Linked DNA regions of Homo sapiens: region 2 is linked to region 1. The links are contacts of gene promoters, found by promoter capture Hi-C in blood cells and fetal thymus (Javierre and others, 2016). All regions are on one chromosome and are shown on one strand. The core of a region is centred on a gene start or on the middle of the fragment in contact, and the rest is flanking DNA. Distances in the headings are between cores, read along the strand shown. Region 1 holds the start of DES (desmin). Region 2 has its middle 47 kb from the start of LINC02832.

The links. Contacts are between HindIII fragments. The CHiCAGO score rates a contact against its expected background, and 5 or more counts as called.
Region 2: a contact is called between a fragment that was not itself captured here and the fragment with the promoter of DES in region 1, in 3 of 17 cell types (M2 macrophages, M0 macrophages and erythroblasts). The highest score is 6.6, in M2 macrophages.

The regions. Positions count from the first base shown.
Region 1 is chr2:219,417,003-219,419,738 of GRCh38, reverse strand. DES (desmin) reads right to left here and starts at 1,362. Exons shown (of 9, transcript NM_001927.4): 1 at 699-1,362. The coding sequence starts at 1,276. RefSeq lists a promoter at 1,287-1,591, a silencer at 1,592-2,067, enhancers at 2,068-2,224, 2,225-2,343, 2,068-2,343 and cis regulatory regions at 2,264-2,270, 1,287-2,343. The HindIII fragment of the contact is 3,605 bases long and covers 1-2,067 here.
Region 2 is chr2:219,681,312-219,684,076 of GRCh38, reverse strand. It overlaps the pseudogene DNAJB6P3. Among named protein-coding and RNA genes, the nearest start is that of LINC02832, 47 kb to the left of the region's middle. RefSeq lists an enhancer at 1-66. The HindIII fragment of the contact is 630 bases long and covers 982-1,611 here.

The sequences.
Region 1 (2,736 bases), core at 113-2,612:
TGACTGTGCTCACTTGGCCTGTCAGAAGTGGGACCAACAAATATGCTACACTTGCTGCCCTTTTCGTTCTTGGAGCCTGGTGAAGTCTACAGTCAGGTCCTCCCAAGCTCTCTGAGAGCTGTGACCCCCACCTACTCCCTTTTTCTCCAGCCTGTCCATTCACCTTGTAAAAAGACACAGTCTCGGCAAGGCCCCAGGGCCAAGCTCCCCCCTCCCCCCACCTCCCCCAGGGCCTCATCACAGCTGAGCTGAGAGCTGTTGCTTGGACTCTGGGCCCTTGCCCTGCTTTCCCTGTCTCCTATCAGCCTCCCTTCTCCCTCTGGCTACACTGCCCTCTGGGCCTCCTGCAGCCCTTCCTCTGCCCATCAACTACCTGACCCCATAAATATCGCCCCAGCATCTTAAAATGCTTTTTAACGGGGCTGTCCACAGGGCACCGGGTCCCCTAAATTCTCCCATATCCACCCCCTGATCTATGTCCCCAAGAAAACTCCTGTGCAAGATGGGATCGCAGGGGGAGAGACCTGGAGGTCACGGCCCCTTGAAACACACAGGTGGAGGACCCTTTCTCCACATGGGGCAGGAGAGGGTCCCGGGCCCCGGGAGAAGGCAGGTGCTGACAGCGGGACCCCAGACCCCAGGCCTAGCCTCCTGTGCCCTGCCCGCAGAAAGAGGAGTCTGGGGTGCCGGGCCCTCACTTGGCCTTGAGCCGCTGCAGGTCGTCGAGCAGGTTGTCGCGCTCGACGTCGACGCGCGCGCGCTGGTTAGTGAGCACCTCCACCTGGCGCCGCAGCTCCCGCAGCTCCTCCTCGTAGAGCTCGGCCACTCGCGTCGGCTCGCGGCCCTTGAGCCGGTTCACTTCGGCGGCGAGCGCCGCGTTCTGCTGCTCCAGGAAGCGCACCTTCTCGATGTAGTTGGCGAAGCGGTCATTGAGCTCCTGCAGCTCCACCTTCTCGTTGGTGCGCGTGGTCAGAAACTCCTGGTTCACCGCGTCGGCCAGTGAGAAGTCCAGCAGCTCGCCTGCGCCGTAGGAGGAGGGCGTGCGGGTGGTCCCCAGCCGGCTGGCCCGCAGCGACCCCAGGCCCCCGGCCCCGCCCGACGTGCGCGACACCTGGTACACGCGGGACGTCACCGAGCTGGAGGAGCCCTTAGAGCCGAAACCCGCCCGCGGGAACACGGGCGAACTCAGCGGGGAGCCGAGTGGGAAGCCCGGGGCCCCGCCGAAGGTGCGGCGGTAGGAGGACACGCGCTGGCTGGACGAGTAGGCCTGGCTCATGGTGACGGCGCGGGCGAGGCTGGCGGGCGCACGGAGGAGGCGGCGGGCAGGCGGCCGGCCGGAGAGTGGATGCGGCGAGGGGAGACAGGGCCCCCAGCCGTCGGCACTATTTGTATCCCTCCTGACATCAGCCCCCGCCTCCCCTCCCCTGACAGCTGCAAGATCCCGCTGTCCTGCCAGGAAAGGGCGGCCCGTGGCCGTGGGGGCGGGGAGGCCAGCTCCCCCGCAAGAGGCCTGCGCCCCTGAGTCAGCCAGCGGGGGTCCTGTGACGGGCAAGCCTGCCAATCCTTCGCCAGGGCAGGCAGCAAGCATGTCTGCAGCCCCCAGGCGGGCCTCTTTCAGCCCTGGTTATCTCCTCGTCCTGGGGTGGGGGGGAGTGGGGTCAGGGGAGACAGCAGAAGAGAGGCTTCCCTTTAGTTTGAGGGTCCCCTTTTTGGTCAAGGAGAGACTTTGGGTCATTTCTTAAAGGGTCAAGGCCTGTTCCCAGGAAAGGCCCTAAACCACCTTGTTCCTAAATATTCTCTTGAAGTCGAAGAGGTTTGGGTCTCAGGCAAAGACCAGCCAGGCTTGAGGGTGGGGGTCTCTAGGCAGGAAGGGAGGGCAGGGAGACGCCTGGCAGGCGGAGGGATCCTGGCCAAAGCCTGCCTGCCATGTATGTCTATGGGCGAGCTAGCCCTGAGCCTCAGTTTCCCTCTGGACTAGTGCAGGCCCTCTTCCTCCCCGGTACTGTCGAGGGTGGGGCCTCAAGTTTATAAACAGTGGGCTGATTTCCAGAAAGGGTCTGATAAGCTTTCAGTTTCCAATTGCTATGTGCGCTCCCACCCCCGCACAGACTTTGTGTGGCTCCTGCCCCCTGGGTCCCCCGCCCCCTCCCTGATTCATCCCCCTACTCACACCACCCACGCCCACACACACCAGGGGTTTGTGTTTTGTCAGGAGCCGCATGTCAACCCAACCATCTCCCTGGCAGCAACAGCTGCCAACCCCAAATACCAGAGCGGGTATTTATAGAGGAGAACGCATGGCTGGGAAACAAGGCACAGGAGAGGAGCTGTGGGGGGCAGGGGGTACCTGAGGAGGCATGGGTGGGCGTCAGATAAGGAAGGCTAGGGTGACAGCCCCAATCACTTCCCACCCCCTATAATGCTCCAGCCCCCACCCCCACAAAAATGGAGCCCCACAGAGGGCCTGCCCAACCTCCAAAGCCCCCTCCTTAGCACACGGCACTTGCTAACCCCTAAGGACATCCACCATTCTCCATGGGTACTGGCCGTGCCTCTACACCTCCACTTGGCACTCCAGGTCCCTCTTGGACCTGACCCTTTTGGAATGCAAACCCTGAAAATAGAGTGCTCGATTAGGAGCCAGTCACTGGTCCTACCCTAGACCTGCCATCACCAGCTGGAGGGGTTACTAGTAGGTGTGTCCTTGTCTGAGCCCCAGCTCAGGCACGTCCTCTC
Region 2 (2,765 bases), core at 47-2,546, 260 kb before region 1:
AATACATGGTGAGGGGCAGGCAGCAGCTGAGCTTGGATAACAAGCAATTCAATGCACACATTTAACAGAAATGTTCAACTACAACAAGCACCATTTGAAGATTAACAGGAACAATTTTTTGACGATTTCAAACAAACTTGCCTTTCAGTATAGTTGCACCTAATCTAAAGTATTTAAAAACAGCTCATCAGAGCCCCTATTTGTCATAGACTTTTGAGTTTATTTGAGACTGTATTAGTCCGTTTTCATGCTACTGATAAAGACTTACCTGAGACTGGGCAATTTACAAAAGAAAGAAAAAAAAGAGGTTTAATTGGACTTACAGTTCCATGTGGCTGAGGAAGCCTCACAATCATGGTGGAAGTCAAGGAGGAGCAAGTCACATCTTACATGGAAGGTAGGCAAAGAGAGAGAGAGCTTGTGCAGGGAGACCCCTGTTTTTAAAACCATCAGATCTCATGAGTTCCATTCACTATCACAAGAACAGCACAGGAAAGACCTGCCCTCATGATTCAATCATCTCCCAGCAGGTCCCTCCCACAACATGTGGGAATTATGGGAGCTAAAAGATGAGATTTCGGTGGGGACACAGAGCCAAACCATAACAGAGACCATTTTTTTTTGGTCTTTAAAATTGTTGTAAATCTCTGTTTGCACTTTGCTTTTTTATTAAACTTACTCCAAGGTGAGCCTTGACTCTTTAGTGGTAGGACAAGATCATACACTGATACCAGCATGGACCTGCTTTTCCGTTGTGTCTGAAATGTGAGTCAAGTAGTATCAGCCTGCTATGACATTAACATTGCCAGGATGAATCTCTTACAGAAATCATTTCGATTTTATTCGGTATTTAGTAGTGAAAGATATTCATGCTTTAATGGTAATACTTTCTGATTTAATACACATTAAGGATGTTTTTCAATTGTGCATGAATGCTGATGACTTCGTTTTGACAATTGTTTATGTATGTCATGTTAAGCTTAGGTTTAAAAAAGTAAAGCCAGTAAACTGGGTCTTTATTATTTGCTTTAAAAAACGAAAATAAATGTGAATGCGTTTGATGCATTAAAAACAAACAAAAAAGAAGTCCAACCTTCTCGTTCCACACACGTTCCTAAGCTGGAAGAATGTGGGTCTGACACGACTACTGGTCATCCTATCTGCTGCTCAAAGGCAGCTCTTCAAGGACAAAGGCAGAAAGAAGAGCTGAAAAGGCAACAAACTCCCAACGATAAAATGTATGTTCTTGGATACAAACATGTCTGAAGTGAGTCCAGCCTTGGGCTTCCCAATCACACGAGTATTTGTTGTTCACTCAGGCTTGGGTTTCATTTCTGCAACCTGCTCACCTCTTTTCCCCAGCGGTTCTTGCTTCCCACATCAGCCTCTGCCCACGCCATGGCTTACTCTCCTCCCATCTCTACATATTTAACCCTGAAGTCTTTTAAGTCTCCACTCAAATGCCACGACCTCCCCCATGAAGTCTTTCCTTACCTCTCCTGTGCCAACTCCCCTGTCCCACCTGGACAGCCCCCTGACACTTAATCTGTACTTTTCCGTGTCTGTATCAGGATTACATTGAGCCTCAGGGCACACAAAACTACAGAAGCTTAGATAAATAGGGATTTCTTTTCCTCACATAAGAGGTCGTCTCATGGAAGGCAGCTGCCAACTTTGCTTTGGGGGCCTGACAATATCAGGGACAGCATCTCCACAGTGGCCTTTATCTGGTACAGTCCCCAGATGGACTTGGAAGACCCAGTTCCTAGCCCCTTCCTTTCTGCATGTAGTTCTCAGGATAACTTTAGAATGTGCTGGAATGCAACATCCTGAGATAGGACTGCCTGAAAGAGCTTGGCTCTTTTCCTGTTTCTCCTGGGGAATGTAAGATCTTGAGTTAGAGGGAACTGTTCAGGACAGCCCACACTTTGTTCCTCTCTTCCCTGGAAGTAGGATGTCCTTCCGAGCTTTGCTCGGTGAGTCATGGAGCCCCTGAGGCTTTTAACTGGAAATGAGCTATCTTTTAGGGGCCCTCAGCTGCCATGAAAGTAGGGCACAAGCAGTGGAAACTCCATCCACCCTGGGCAGCTTTCTTGAACACATTCACACTCCTTAGGGGACTGGCTCACAGTGGCTCCCAGTCTTCTTTGTCCCTTGCTGACTATTGCTGAGTAATAAATCCATTTCCTGTAACTTGTTGCATGTGAGTCTGTTCTATCTCACGGGACTCAGGCAATTGGTAAAACTACAGCCCGCAATGCAATGGGCAGAAGTGTTCAGAATCCTAGTCATGGTGGTTGGCATAGTGATAGTCTTTGCCGTCCTCCAAGCACTGGGGGTCCTCTCTTGTGACTGGTTATTGGTGAACCCGTTTCTCAGCCTCACGGTTGCAAGATGGCTGCCACACATCCAGGCATCATATTTGCTTTCCAGGCAAGAATAAAGGAGAAGTAGGAGGACCAGTTGCTTCCTCCTTTTTAATCCGGAGAACAGAAGTTTTCCTGGAACCCACTAGCAGACTTCCACTTAAAATTCATGACCCCAAACCACATCATCACTGACTAGTTGCAACAGAGGGCAGGAAATGAGGATTTAAGTCCCCTAGAGTAGACAAGGAAAATAAGAAGGAGATAGGGAACGGCTATTAGGTCAGCCTAAGAATAGTCACTGCCCTGCTTGCTCAAGGCCCTGGTCACAGTTGTATCTTTTATTACAGTTTTTTGCTTACTAAAATCTGAGCTCCCTCTGGGAAGGGGCTGAGTTCT